4 separate regions of the Homo sapiens genome follow, and all the other regions are linked to region 3. Evidence: promoter capture Hi-C in human tissues and cell types (Jung and others, 2019). All regions are on one chromosome and are shown on one strand. Each heading gives the region's core, a stretch centred on a gene start or on the middle of the fragment in contact. The rest is flanking DNA. Distances are from core to core; before and after follow the strand shown. Region 1 holds the start of ARRDC1 (arrestin domain containing 1). Region 2 overlaps C9orf163 (chromosome 9 putative open reading frame 163). Region 3 holds the start of SAPCD2 (suppressor APC domain containing 2). Region 4 holds the start of PMPCA (peptidase, mitochondrial processing subunit alpha).

What was found. Contacts are between HindIII fragments. The study calls those that stand out against the background at their distance.
Region 1: a contact is called between the fragment with the promoter of ARRDC1 here and the fragment with the promoter of SAPCD2 in region 3, in 1 of the 25 tissues and cell types used here (lymphoblastoid cells).
Region 2: a contact is called between a fragment that was not itself captured here and the fragment with the promoter of SAPCD2 in region 3, in 1 of the 25 tissues and cell types used here (spleen).
Region 4: the fragment with the promoter of PMPCA here is called in contact with the fragment with the promoter of SAPCD2 in region 3 in 1 of the 25 tissues and cell types used here (lymphoblastoid cells).

The regions. Positions count from the first base shown.
Region 1 is chr9:137,604,335-137,607,452 of GRCh38, reverse strand. It overlaps ARRDC1 (arrestin domain containing 1), which reads right to left and starts at 1,767. Exons shown (of 8, transcript NM_152285.4): 1 at 1,618-1,767. The coding sequence starts at 1,735. LOC124902318 (a long non-coding RNA gene) reads left to right here and starts at 2,115. Exons shown (of 3, transcript XR_007061885.1): 1 at 2,115-2,156. RefSeq lists silencers at 1,096-1,365, 1,376-2,505. The HindIII fragment of the contact is 21,275 bases long and covers 1-3,118 here.
Region 2 is chr9:136,484,229-136,487,468 of GRCh38, reverse strand. It overlaps C9orf163 (chromosome 9 putative open reading frame 163), which reads right to left. Exons shown (of 1, transcript NR_172629.1): 1 at 1,402-3,240. It also overlaps a transcript of SEC16A not described here. Among named protein-coding and RNA genes, the nearest start is that of C9orf163, 2.4 kb to the right of the region's middle. RefSeq lists an enhancer at 3,046-3,240. The HindIII fragment of the contact is 3,851 bases long and covers 1-3,240 here.
Region 3 is chr9:137,068,828-137,072,283 of GRCh38, reverse strand. It overlaps SAPCD2 (suppressor APC domain containing 2), which reads left to right and starts at 1,727. Exons shown (of 6, transcript NM_178448.4): 1 at 1,727-2,394. The coding sequence starts at 1,824. RefSeq lists an enhancer at 586-1,565 and silencers at 1,670-2,079, 2,250-2,299, 2,350-2,399. The HindIII fragment of the contact is 19,800 bases long and covers 1-2,468 here.
Region 4 is chr9:136,408,504-136,412,103 of GRCh38, reverse strand. PMPCA (peptidase, mitochondrial processing subunit alpha) reads right to left here and starts at 1,446. Exons shown (of 13, transcript NM_015160.3): 1 at 1,365-1,446; 2 at 1-107. The coding sequence starts at 1,435. It overlaps ENTR1 (endosome associated trafficking regulator 1), which reads left to right and starts at 1,490. Exons shown (of 10, transcript NM_001039707.2): 1 at 1,490-1,776; 2 at 1,865-2,014; 3 at 3,037-3,105. The coding sequence starts at 1,707. RefSeq lists enhancers at 1,208-1,257, 1,288-1,377, 2,228-2,387 and silencers at 1,588-1,677, 1,818-1,867. The HindIII fragment of the contact is 13,229 bases long and covers 1-3,600 here.

The DNA of each region.
Region 1 (3,118 bases), core at 518-3,017, 540 kb before region 3:
GCCCTTTAGACAGCCGGTGTCCTCACGGCTGGGTGCTGACTGTCACCGACACTCATCGGCAGAGTAAGTGAGCAAGCTCTGGGGCCCAGGCAGGGCTGCTGTCCTCCTGGGGGCTGAGGGCCTCCCTACTGGCTCCTAGCAGGATTGACAAGCATCCTCTGAATGAGGAAAAGAAACCATGGTCCTTCTGTTCCCATCCCAGGCAGGGCTGGGGGAAACCCCCGGGGGCCCCGGTACACCCTCCCACCTCACTTGCAGCAGCCTGAATCATGTGCTCTCTGGCCCATCAGGGCCCATCTCCTACTCCTTAGCTCACGACCCTCCTTTTTCTCCCTCATTCAGACCAGCCTCTGTGAGGTAGGACCATCAGCCAGTGCTCCCTCGGCTCTTGGGCCAGCTGCCCAAAGTGCTGGGATTACAGGCGTGAGCATTCAACCCACCCACCACGTCCACCCGGAGGCCAGGGGAGCCTGCACACCCAGGCCAGTCACGCACCGCGGGGCCGTCCCTTCCCTGTGGTAAGCAATGGCCTGCTCACCCCAGGCCACGCCAGGGGAAGGACGACAGGGTCCTGCACAGCCCTCAACCAGGATCCAGCCGGCCTCACCACACACCACACCTGTACCCAAGAGATGTGTGTGCTATCTCTGCCCTGCCACGGCCACACCTGCCCCCACCCAGACCCCAAACTCAAGGTTGGGACAGAGGAAGGGAGGCTGTGGGGTCATCCCAGGAGGCCCAGTGGGGCCAGGAGCCTGACAGAAGCACCTACCACCCGGCTTCTTCCGAGGCCCCACAGCCTCAGGCGGTGCAGGGTCAGGGCCACAGCACCATCACCTGTCCCAGGAGGCTGAGAGGACAGAACAGAGACTGTGGGTTCTCAGCAGGCACAAAATCGGTGCTGTTACCCACGCGCGGGCCCAGCGGTCAAGGTCCAGCGGCAAGTCCAGGGGCTGTGGCACAGGCCAAGCAGCCCAGGTGGTTCCCACAGGAGGCCAAGGTAGAGAAGTCCCCGGCAGGGACGCGGCACTCACAGCCAAGGGCCGGGCAGAGGCAGCCTCACCTCGCGGGCCGGCCCTCACCTCCAGGGCGCCCTGCCAGCGGCCACTGCAGCAACCCGATACCCAGTCCCCGAGGCCCAGGCGTCCACCTCGGCGGGGGGCCGGCGAGGCCTGCTGGCGGGTGGCAGGGGGCGCAGGGAGCCGCAGCAGGTGTCTGCACCCCGCCGGGACCGCACGCCCGCGCCAGGAGCGGCTCTGCAGCGGGAGCGCCTGCGCCGGGAGCCAGGGTGCGGGAAGGAGCCCAGCAGGTGCGAGCGCGGACGGGGAGGGTCGCAGGCCTGCGTGCGCCCGCGCTCAGGGCGTCCTCCACAGTGGACCCGCTTCAGGCCCCGCCGGGACCCCGCCGCCCCTCGGCGAGAGGGCAGGAAGGGCAGACGCGGAAGGGCGGCGCCGCCCGGACCTCCCCGGCGCCGCCGAGCCCGCTTCCCAGCAGTCCCGGGCGGCGAAGACAGCGACTCCGCGGGCCCAACCCGGGGCCAGGCGACGGCAGCCGCTTCCGGGAGCCCTGGCCCCGCGCAGGTGCGGCCAAAGGCCCTCCCCGAGGACCCGCGCCCACCTCGGAACGGCAGCGGTGCCCCCAGGCGCACGCGCACGGTCCCAGCCAACGGCTCCCCGGGGCTGTAGACGACGCGGCCGTGGCTCAGGCTGATCTCGAAGAGCTGCACTCGCCCCATGCCGCGGCCTCACCGGCCAGCCGCGCAGCGACGCCCCCGCCCGCCGCCCGCGAGTCCCGGCTCCGAGGCCCGGCCCCGCCCCCTCCTATGCCCCGCCCCCATCCGTCCCAATCCCGGCCTCCACCCCCATCCGGCCCCTCCCAGGCCCTGCCCCGCCCCACGGCCCCGCCCAGCCCCCCGGCCGCCCCGTAGCCCGCGGACTGCCGCTCGGAGGCCCGGCCCAGCCCCTATTCCCCGCCCCATCCGTCCGTGTGGCCCCGCCCCCTCGTTATTCCCCGCCCCTCTGACAGCCTCCTCGCCCCGCCCCCGCCCTTCGCCCCTGCCTCGCCTTCCCAGCTCCGCCCCTGCCTCGGCCGCCCCACCCCTGCCCCGCCCCCCGGCCGCGCTCATCCATCCCCGGCCCTGGCCCTGTCCCGGCTGGGTAGGTGCTGCGCTGCGTCGGGCGCCGCTTAAGGGACTTGAGGCGCAAGCGTCCCGTGCGTCCCCCACGGAGGGAGTCACCGCCGCGTCTCCGTCGGGGGGCAGGGCTGGGGGCGGGGCCGAGGCGAGCTCTGAGACTGGGAAGGTCTCCCCGCTGCACTCTGCTGCGGGCAGAACCCACTCCTCCGCCCCCACCCTCCGCCCGTCCCGCCCAGGGGTCTCCCTCACCCCGAGTCGCGGAAAAACGTCACGGGGCCGCGCGGGCGTCCTGGGCGGGGATGCTCCGCCGCGTAGGACCTGCCCCGCCTCAACCCCCACCCCCGGCTCCTGCCCCGCACCCCCAACCTTCTCCGCACCTACCTCGCGTCCCAGCACCTGTCGCGCCCCTCCGGAACCTGCCCGCCCTCCCGCCTTCCCGGTACCTGCCTACCCCCGCAACTGTCCCGGCCCCCAACACCTGCATCGCCCAACCCCTTCCCCCCCCGCCCCCTGCCTTCCCCGCACCTGCCCGGAGTCCCAGCACCTGCCCCGCCCCCCGCTATCCCCCTCCTTGCTGGCCTGATGGGGTGTGGGCCCAAGGGAGCCACACTTGGGCGGAGGCCCTTGGGCAGGGGTCCGCAGCAGAAGGGTCGGGGGCCAGGTGGGGCGAGGACTTGGATCACTTGAAACCAGGAGGAACACACTCCCATTTATCTTTTTTAAAGGGTCCCTTTGTAGAGAGTGAGCCGCGGGGGGTGGGACTCAAATACCCAGGGGACCTAAGGCGGGAGAGACCGGTTGGGTAGTCCTGGAGAGGGAAGGCGTCGCTCGACAAGGACCAGCTCACCACGGAGTGGGTGTGCGGGCCCCAGTGCTGCGAGTTTTTCTAGGACAGCCGGTGAAGAGGGTGGCCTTCTCTGATGGGGAGGACGGACCTAGATACACATGGTTTGGGGGTGGGAGGGTCATCACATGCAGAGTCTG
Region 2 (3,240 bases), core at 489-2,988, 580 kb after region 3:
ATGCCGTCAATGTGCCCTGTGCCTCCGGGGAGGCCTGGTGTGGAGGATACGCTTGCCACCCTGTGAGGTCAGGTCCAGGAAGTCCTTGCAGGAGGCCGGGAAAGGGCAAGGCTGTCACCTTCTTTTACAGGGGAGGAGGCAGAGGCTTGGAAAGGCCAGGTAGCTTGCCCAAGGCTGAACACCTGGGTAGTGGCTGAGGGTCTCTGACTTCTGGAAGCTTGCAGTACAGCTGGACACACGGTAGTTAGCCCACCATTGCTGGAGCCATCTTACCTGTGCTCTGCTAGCCAGGTGGGCGCCCAAAAGGAGATGCCTTTGCCTGTGCTGGGAGGAGGCGCTGTGGGACCCATTCCCCAGCAGCCGAGAGCAAGGGCACATGTGCCAGGGCGGGGATGCACCTTCAGCCTCATGTCAGCCCTGGGAAGGCCTAGAAAGTGGACAGTGCTGTCTCGCTGCACACCCCTGGCGAGCACACCGGGCGAGCACTCCAGGTTAGGGTGGGGCTCAGAGGTGAGTAGAACACGGGAAGGGGGTGGCAGCGTGGTGAGCATGTTTGCGGACCCTATGCTGTGTGCTTGGCAGGCCTTGTGCATGGAAGTGAGTGGGACTGAAGCTCCCTCCACACTGCCCACCATGGCCCTGGGGGTCTGGCCTTCCCCTCACAGAGGTGACTTCCTCTCCTCTATGAGGGTAAGAAGAGGAAGCCTGGCCCACCCTCTGGCCAGCCTGGTGGCATGCTGACAGGGAACCCCTGCAGGGGCCTGATGAACAAACGCCACAGAACAAACTCTACGGACCCTGCCTCCAGATCTGCTTCCTCTCCCCTGATTCCAGCTTCCCAGCCCTATTCCCTCCTCCTCCAGGAAGAGCTCCGTGTCAGTGCTCTCCACCTTGGAGGCCTTCATATGTTTTTTTGCCTGGACCACCCAGCTAACCGTCTCACAGAGACTGCCCCTTCCTCTCTCCAGGCCAAGCCTCCAGCTTCAGCGTCCAGGACTAAGGGTCTGTGTCAGGGGCTGAGGACAGTGTCCGGCAGGGAGCAGGCCTGCCCAGTAAACCTCCACAAGCACCCAGACATACTCGCCACTGCTATTTTACACCAGGTAGGAAAGAGGAGCAGAAGCTCACAGTGAGGGGCCGTCCTGCGTTCACTGAGACTGCTGCTCTGCTGGGGGCTCCCTGGAGGACCGCCACTGGCCCGCCAGTTGTCAGCAAAGAGCCAGGTCCACCCATCAGCCTCTGGCATTTCAGGCCCCTATCATAGGAGGCTATAAGCACAGGCTAGGGGTGCTGAGTGCCTGCCTTCTAGACCAACACTGTCCAGTGGAAATGTAACACCAGCCCCATGTGGAGTTTTACATTTCCCAGCAGCTATGTCAAAAACAAAAGAAACAGGTGAAATAAAATTAAATAGTATTTTGTTTAATCTGATACATCCAAGATATTGTCATTTTAATATGCAATAAAAAATGATTGATTCGATATTTGCATCCTTCACAACCTACCATGTAGTTTACACTCAGAGCCCAGCTCAGTCTCACAGCAAGCACCAGCGGCCCCCGTGCTGGACAGCATGGCTAATGGGAGGAGCTGACCCGTCGGAGGCACCAAGGTCACGCTGTGACCAAGGCTGTGGTGACGCAAAGGCAGCGGGTTTCCTGGCACAGCCTGGAGGTGCACCAGCCTGTCCTGTGTGCTCTGCATAATGTGGTACAGCAGTGGTCACAGAGCTTTGCACCAGATGCTGATTCCAGCCCACCTAGGGGGGTTCAGGGAAGTGGTGACACTTGTGTCCAGCCTCCAGGTGTGAGCAGGGGCAGAGACTTGGAGAATGGAGAAACCAGCGGATGCTGCAGGCAAAAGCAGCAAAGCCCCACCAGGAATAGTGATGGCCACCACCGGCGGGACACCTCCCAGCACTGGGTGGAGGCCTCTGCTGGCTCGCAGTCAGTCACCTGATGTCCCCATTCGCCCCTGCCATGCTTGTTGTCCTGGCAACCCCATTTCAGCCCTGAAACGTTTAGGTGCTCATCTTGCTCTATCTTAGAGATGAAGACCTGATGCTCAGAGACTAAGGAAGTTGAAAAAGGGCACACAGCGTCTCAGGGGCAGGCTGGGCCTTCAACGGAAGGGTCTATGGCCCAGAGGCTGGATGGGCTCGGGTGTAGGGTGCAGGAACCCTCCACTCCACATCAGGCTACAAACTGCTGAGAGCTGTCTCCGTGCACTCAGGATTAGGGAGAAGAGGGGGAAGAAAGACAGCCGCGCCCCCTGCAGGTGATGTGGTGATTCACACCCCTAGGAGCCAACAGAAGCCGCTGTCTAACATCCCTGCCCTGAGGTCCAGAGACCTTGCATTTTATGCCTAGGGCAGGGTTGGTTTCTGCAGCTATGGTCTCTCCCATAGCTTAGTGCCCACCCCGGTGGGACCACAGGGTTTCGGAGGACCCTAGAGGGTCGAGCCCTGGGCTCCTGGCTCTTGGGTTCTTTGAACTCGCGAGCGGCAAAAGGCGAGCCCCACGCCTGAGAGGCAGCATCCACCTCTGCATCCCCCTCTTTGGAAAGGGCAAACAATGACACCTCCTTCCGCGGAGGGTGCAGAGCGCCTCGACCACTGGGAAGAAGCAGATGGGGGCAGCGGGGCTGGGGCTGGGCCCTACCACGTGCTCCCTAACTCTGTTCAAACAGGTCAGGAATCTGACTCCTGAAAGGCAAATGTTAGCTGAGCAGATTGGCCCTGGTGCCACGTCAGCCGGACTGAAGCTCTCCCTGCACCGCCTGCGGCCCTGCTGGCGTGGCACGGATATCACCCCCTCCCTCACCAGCCGCCGGCCCAGCTGGGGACAAGGGTGGCTCCCACCCAGGGAGGACCTCAGCCGCTGCTGGGAGCTCAGCCTCCCGCGATGCCATCGGGCGGGCACCCCCACCACGGCGCCTGCCCTCTGGAAGGAGCAGCAGAGGAAGGCCGCGGCTCTTCCCTGCCCTTGCCAGGCAGGTGTGCAGGTGAGTGGGCCCGGCATGGCTGGCCGCTTCCTCAACCGCTCAGCCTCCCTCGGCTCCTCCGAAAAATGAGGGCACAGAGGATAGTGCCCACCTGTTCCCTGCGATCTTCCGCGGGAGGGCGTGGATGCTGCCTGGCCTGGCCGTGGCAGGCACAGGAGCGCCTACCCGCCTCACCCCTCCGCTGGGTCGCTCTGGCCGCCCGAGCGCCCGGGCCCACTCGCCACCGACGTGCACTCA
Region 3 (3,456 bases), core at 478-2,977:
GGCTTCAGGGGGAAGGGGACTGGGGCCAGAGCAGAGTTCTGAAGGATGTAGTGCGGTCAGCCTGGAGCAGAGGGGAAGGGCCTTCCTGGTAGAAGAGCCACCAGGCACAGGGGCCTGGAAGTGAGGGAGTGCAGGGACCCCAGGCCTGGCACTGGCGGTGAGGGGTGTGCTGGAAGCAGGGTAGGTGTGGGGATGGGGGGGCGGGGGCTTGCGTGTTGTGCTGGTTTGTTTTGTTTTGTTTTGTTTTTGAGACAAGATCTCGCTCTGTCACCCAGGATGGAGAGCAGTGGCTCAATCACAGCTCACTGCAGCCTCAACCTCTTGGGTTCAAGGGATCCTCCCACCTCAGCCTCCCAAATACCTGGGACCACAGGCATGCACCACCACGCCTGGCTAATTTTTTAAACTTTTTGTAGAAATAGGGTTGCCTTATGTTGCCCAGGCTGGTCTTGAACTCCCCAGCTCAAGTGATCCTCCCGCCTCGGCCTCGTGCTGGGTTTTTGAGCAGACCAGCCATTAAAGGGGAAGCTGGCTTACAGGACCAAGCTCTGATGGGCTGCTCCAGGCTCAGAGCTTCTTATGTCCTTCCAGCATTCCCTACGATGAAGGAGTCCCACTTAGAGTGAGTGACCCAGAAGAGAAGTGGACCCAGGATACTCCCTGGCCTGGGAAGATGCCTCTACAGCTTGAGACACAGGCACCAGTGGCTCAGGCCTGAGGACAGAGACCCAGGTAGGTATGCCAGCTGAGGCCTGCCCAGGAGGGAGGGTGGGAGACCCGCAGAGGGCCAAGGCAAGTCTCGGATTGGGGGCCTGTCTGGGGAGGGTGTTTGCACCCTGAACACCTCCCTGGAACCTAGAGGGTACTACTGGCCAGCCCTGAGATGGGCTCCCAGGGCTAGAACCCAGGCTAAGGCCTGGTCTCACCTCCCATGTGGACAGACCAAATGAAGACAGAGTGACCAGATCCCAGCTGGAAACACAGCAGAGGCAGGGGGACAGGGCTGCGGGAGCCAGGAGAGCAGCTGGAGGAGGTGTCCAGCCAGGGGAAGGAGGAGAGGAGAGCAAGAGGCAGAGGGAGCTGGTCACTAGATGGGGATCTGGGGACACAGGAGAAAGTGGCTTTGTTCTGCAGCAGGCAGGCCAGGCCAGACTGTCCCGAGGGACCAGAGGAGGAGCCAGCAGCAGTGGGGACAGAAAGGCCTCTGTGAGTGGGAAGCGCCCAGCTGGCTGGAGCCTACGATCCTCTTGGGGCCCTCCTGGTGGAAGAGAAGGGGGCCGCAGGGTCACCTGTGCTTGCGGCCAGGGAACTAGAGGGGAAAAGTGGGATCTTTGGAGGGGGTGCCCCCCCCCATTCTTACCCCACGAGGCTACCTGGAGACAGGTTTTTTTGTAGGGTGCCAGGCCCCGCCCCTTGGAGAGGTGGCCGGGGCAGCCAGCCACAGCTGGATCCGAGAAAGCGCCTGGCCGCGGCAGGAGGTTTGGTGGGGCTGGGGCGGGGCAGAAAGGAAGGTCTGCGAGGCCAGAGTGGAGCAGGAGCTGGGGGATCCGGTTCCGCCTGCCCAGGGCCTCCGCGCGCCTCCCAGGGCCACTCGGCAAGAAAAAAAAAAAAAAAATCAAACCTCCTCTCAGCCTATCAGAGAGCAGATGGGACGGGCTCGGCCAATGGCCGCGGCGCATGTTAATGAGGGCTGACGCCGCGAGGAGGGCCCCATTCAAAAGTAGTCGCTATTGTCGCCGTGGGCTGAGCTCGCCGGGCCGGCCCCTCCGTGGGGCCGCGCTGGGACGCACGCGGGTGGACGAGGGGACCGATCCCGGGCGCCCATGGCCGGGGCCGCCATGGCCGAGCGGGGCCGCGTGCCTCCCCCCGCACCCGCGCCCAGCACGGAGGGGCTGCCGCGCGCCTTCCTGCAGAGCCTGCGCACCCTGTTCGACATCCTGGACGACCGGCGGCGCGGCTGCGTGCACCTGCGCGAGATCGAGTCCCGCTGGCAGGGCACCGACGCGCGGGAGCTGCCCCGCGGGGTGCTGGAGGGCTTGCGCCAGGTGGCCCCGGCCAGCGGCTACCTGACCTTCGAGCGCTTCGTGGCCGGCCTGCGCACCTCCCTGCTGAGCGCCGACGGCGGCCCCCGGGACCCCACGCGCGCCCCGGCCCGGCCCGGGGATCAGCCGCCGCCGCCGCCGCAGCGCCTGGTGTTCGCTCCGGCCGACGAGCCGCGGACGGTCCTGGAGAGGAAGCCCCTGCCCCTGGGCGTGCGCGCCCCTCTGGCCGGTCCCAGCGCCGCCGCCCGCAGCCCGGAGCAGCTGTGCGCCCCGGCTGAGGCGGCGCCCTGCCCCGCGGAGCCCGAGCGGTCCCAGAGCGCGGCGCTGGAACCGAGCTCCAGCGCGGACGCAGGTGAGTTCCGGACGGCCCCCGGGCACCCTCGTAGCTCTCCCGGGCCCGGGCCAGAAACCGCAGTCCCACAGCTGCTGCCCGTGCATTTCCCACAAGGGACGGGACCGGGGAGCGGCTCTTCGTGGACTCCGGATCCTGGAGGGCGCCTCGGCGGGTCTGGAGGGAAAGGGCTTCATGCTTGTCGCGGTGAGCCCAGGGGCTTGCTTAGGGAGGCAAGCCAGACCCTCTCCTGCCACAGCATAAGGCCACCAGGGCCGGGGGGTGGCAGGTGACTCAGAAAACCCACCGGGAGCCCAACCTGTACCAAGCCTGAGCTTGGGCTCTCCATCTCCAATACCCTTTCCGCACCTGGGGACACCTGGGCCCTCAGCCTCCTGTCTGTGGCTGCTCAGGCAGAAGTGCTTCCTTCTCAAAGAAAGGGTCCCCCTTCTCAGTGTGACAGCTTAGCCAGGGGGGCTGGGCCCACTGACCCCACTGAGGCCTAGGCAGGCGGGGGCTGCTGCTGGTGGCCCAAGAGGACCTGGCCCTGTTGCCAAGATGGGCAGGGGCGTGGGTGGATCTCCTGCACCCCAGTGGGGCTGTACTATGGCAGATGCCATGGAGGGACATAGGCCGTAGTCCCTGGGGATGGCTGGCACACTCCTCTCCTGCCTTCCGGTCCAGTTGGCAGTGATGGGAGATTGCTGAATGGTCCCCTGTCTCCCCCAACCCAGTGCCTGCCTTGGGAACAGGACCTGTATTATGGCTGGGGTTGGGGGGCCAAGCTCCCAGAGGGGCCCCAGGCCCCACAGCCCATTCGGCCTGTGCACCCGTTCTGCCAGGGGAGGCCTGCCCACCGGTGGCTCCTGCCGGTCCCTGTGCTGCCTGCTGCTCTGCCACCCTCCCTGTACTGCTCCCCCACCTCAGCCATATTCTCCAGCCCTACAGCTGGTGTTTGGAGCCACGGCGGCCCTGGCCTCCCTGGTGATCTGATCCAGCAGCCACACCAGGCTGGGGGACCCCTAGTTCTATGGTGAGGGAACCTTCAGAGGGTATCTGGCTCCAAATGCAGGGTCAGCGTCA
Region 4 (3,600 bases), core at 197-2,696, 660 kb after region 3:
CAACTGTAGCAAAAACAGGCTTGGGTACTCCAGGTAAGGGAGAAGAGAGGGGGATGTTGGGATAGGCACCACCACTACTAAACCGTCTGTACGCAGGAGGTCCAAACCTAAAACAGAGAAAGCGGCCCAGTTACAACAGGCTTGAGACAACAAACCTGTGATGACCTGTTAGGTGCGGTTAGTTATGTTTTGTCTGGGTTAAAAGTGAGCATCTGCCTTTCTACAGGACTTATTTCTACAGACTTTGGAAGACAAAGCAGAGGCTGACAACAAAGGCTCAGCCACGGGACCTGGAGCAAGCTGGTTCCGTCCTTTGGGTCTTAGTTGCTATCTCTGTAAAAACAGGGCTTATTAACAGTAACTCACTCTAAGTGCAGTTTGTACACATAAAGCACTTAACAGCTCTGCCCTCCAACAGCACCACCGAAGTCTTGGATAAAAGCCATATCCCTTATTAACCTGGTCCGAAGGCGGGGTGTGACTTGGCCTCTGTCTCCCTCTCCAAACTCATCTCTTGAACCCCCACACTCCCATAGGTCCTGGTCACACTGATTCTTGTCAATTCCTGGAACACATTTGACTCATCAACCCCAAAGCTTCTTCACCGTTCCAGGGCTTGCCCTTTGCCCATGCCTACCCCTTCTTTCATTCTTCAGCTCTTCCCTTAAATGTCACCCTGATGGAGGACTATCCCTCACCAGTCTAGTCTTTCCTGCTATTTTCTATCATGAAAGGCTGCTTGTTTACTCCAAAGCATTTACGCGACTGCCGATATTTTGTTTACGCTCCAGCCTGTATCCATCTCCTGGAGGCAGCACCTCCGCACCCCTGAAACGGCGCTCGTTGTGTGGGGAGGGGCGACGCCTGTGCTGTCGGAACAAAGTTCCAGCGTGGGGAAAGGCAGGCCCGGTCACTTGGGTGGGAGGAGCGGTGGGTACGGAAAGGGTTCTTAAACGTCAGAGATCAACGGACAGACCGCAGCAACCGAGAGCCTGGACCCTGGTGTCAGAACCCTGCGGGTCTAACAGAGCTGGGCCCCCACCGGCTCAGCCTCCTGAAGGAGCACGCGGTAGGTGAAGCGCGGGGGCAAATATGAGGCATGGCCTCGGAGAAGGCCCGTCGACCCGGGAAGTGAGGGGGGGAGAGGACCCAGCAGCCGGGGAGAGGAGAGACAGATGGGACTGCGTCCCCGGGCTCGAGGCGCAAAGCAAGGCAGGGCCCCCGTCGCCTCGGGGACACCAGTGTCCCGAAGTGCGAGCCCGTCCCACGGGCGCCATGTCACCTGTAGAAACCGAAGACGGAGCGTCCAGAAAGACTCGAGCCGCCCCCGCCCCAGGCCGAAGCCTGGTTCGCCTTTGGCTCACCTCAGCCGCGAACAGCCCCAAGAACCCGAGCCCCGCAGCAACCGCGTCGCCGCCAGCACCACAGCCGCCATCTTGCGTCTCCGCCCCGCTTCAGTCGTCACTTCCGCTTCCGCCCACGGCTTCCCCTCCCCCTCGCCGACGGCCCAAGGCGTTCAGGCACGCGCTTTCGGTGCTCGGAGCGGAAGCAGCGGCGAGAGGCTCGGAGGCGCGGGGGCGGCCGAGCGGCGGGCGACGGGGGCGGGCGACGGGGGCGGGCGACGCGGGCCGCGGCACGGGCGGAGCCGGGGCCATGGAGCCGCCGCTGCCGGGCTAGGCAGGTCGTGCCCCGCCGGGCCGGCGGCGATGTCGGGCTACCAGCGCCGCCCGGGCGCCACCCCGCTGTCCCGAGCCCGGAGCCTCGCCATTCCCGACGGTGAGCGGGGCAGGGGCCGAGTCCAGCGGTCCAGGTGGGCGGCGGCCGCCCCGGCACGCAGTAAAGTCGCTGTTGTCGTTGCTTCCAGCTCCAGCGTTCTATGAGCGCCGGTCTTGTCTCCCCCAGCTAAATTGTGAGCGCCCCCATGGCAGGGACCTGGACTCCCCCTTCTTCGGCATTCGGCCGGCCTTTATGTGCTATGTGCCCAGCCCGGTGCTGGCTTCCGTGGGAGACACAGGTGAGAGACGAGGGCGCCGGCCCCGGGGACGCTTCCAGTTCCCGCGCCACGTGTGGCACCTCCGCTGCAGCACGAGCTCGTCCATTGACCCATCAATGTGCAGAGCGCTCACTGCGTGCCAGGCACTCGGAATTCAAAGGCGGAGTCCCCTGCTAGGAGCTCACAGTCTGGTTGCGGGGAGACCTCCCCCAAGACAGACAGTTCCAGTACAGGATGGTTAGTGCCCGGGGAGCACAGGAGCCCGCCCGCTTTCCTCGTGGGGCTGGAGTCGGGGTGCCTTCACCTAGTGGGCAGTGATTGGAAACCGAGCTGGAGCATTCCATCTGCCTCCACAGCCGGGCAGTGGCCAGATCTGGTTCGTCCTCGTTCTACCCAAGCAGAAGTGCTGCTGGGTGCCCGGGGTGTGCAGGAGTGTTTGTGTGGTTATGCCAGGATCTGAGGACATTCGGGGGTTGTCACAAGACAAGAGGACGCGCTTGCCCCGGCTGGGCTTCAAAATCTGCTGAGGAGCCGCTTTCAGACCACGGACACCAGGGCCAGTCTGCAAGTCAGGCCATCTCCAGGGTCACAAGTCTGGGAGCTTGTGTTTTTTTTAAAGTTTTCTCGGCTGACCGGGCGCAGTGGCTTACGCCTGTAATCCCAGCACTTTGGGAGGCCGAGGCAGGCGGATCATGAGGTCAGGAGATTGAGACCATCCTGGCTAACAGGGTGAAAACCCGTCTCTACAAAAAATACAAAAAAATTAGCCGGGCGTGGTGGCAGGTGCCTGTAGTCCCAGCTACTCGGGAGGATGAGGCAGGAGAATGGCGTGAACCCAGGAGGCGGAGCTTGCAGGGAGCCGAGATCGCACCACTGCACTCCAGCTTGGGCGACAGAGCAAGACTCCGTCTCAAAAAAAAAAAAAAAGTTCTCTAGACTGTGAGAACCACTGCAGTGGAGACTCCATGTGCAAAAGAAAAAAACCAAATGTGAGGTCATAAAGACTTCCTGCCAGCATGGTGGGTGACATTGTTTCTTTGCAGATTTTGGCTATGGAAAGGGGAAATGTTCTAAGCAGAGCCCGTCAGGAGCCCACGGGACACATTTTGGAGGTAGAGTAGTTCAGCAACCTTTTCTTCTTGTCTCCATCCAACACAGTGCCAGGCACGTGTCTGGTGGGACTGTCAATGTGACTGGCTATGTGGTGTAGCTGGAGCCCAAAAGAGCAGGTGGGGGTGGGATTTCAAGGGTTCAGTCTTGATCCTAGAGTAGCAGCGAGGTGACATCAGGGAGCGGGGAAGCCCCACCTGGGGGGCTGGGGCCACAGGAGCCAGCTTTACATGGGGCTCACAGCTGGGAGGGTCGAGTGTGGCTGCTTAAGTCCCCGGAGGGTGGGAAGGCGGTGGCAAGAGGGAGAAGGGAAAAGTGGGCGTTATTTAGGCTACCTAGGTAGGAAAGTCGGGAAGAGGGTCAGGGGGCACTGGGTCCCCAGCGTTGCAGCACCTGAGGAGCTGGTTGTTGTTGTTGTTTTTTGAGACAGAGTCTCGCTCTGTCGCCCAGGCTGGAGTACAGTGGCACGATCTCGGCTCACTGCAAGCTCCACCTCC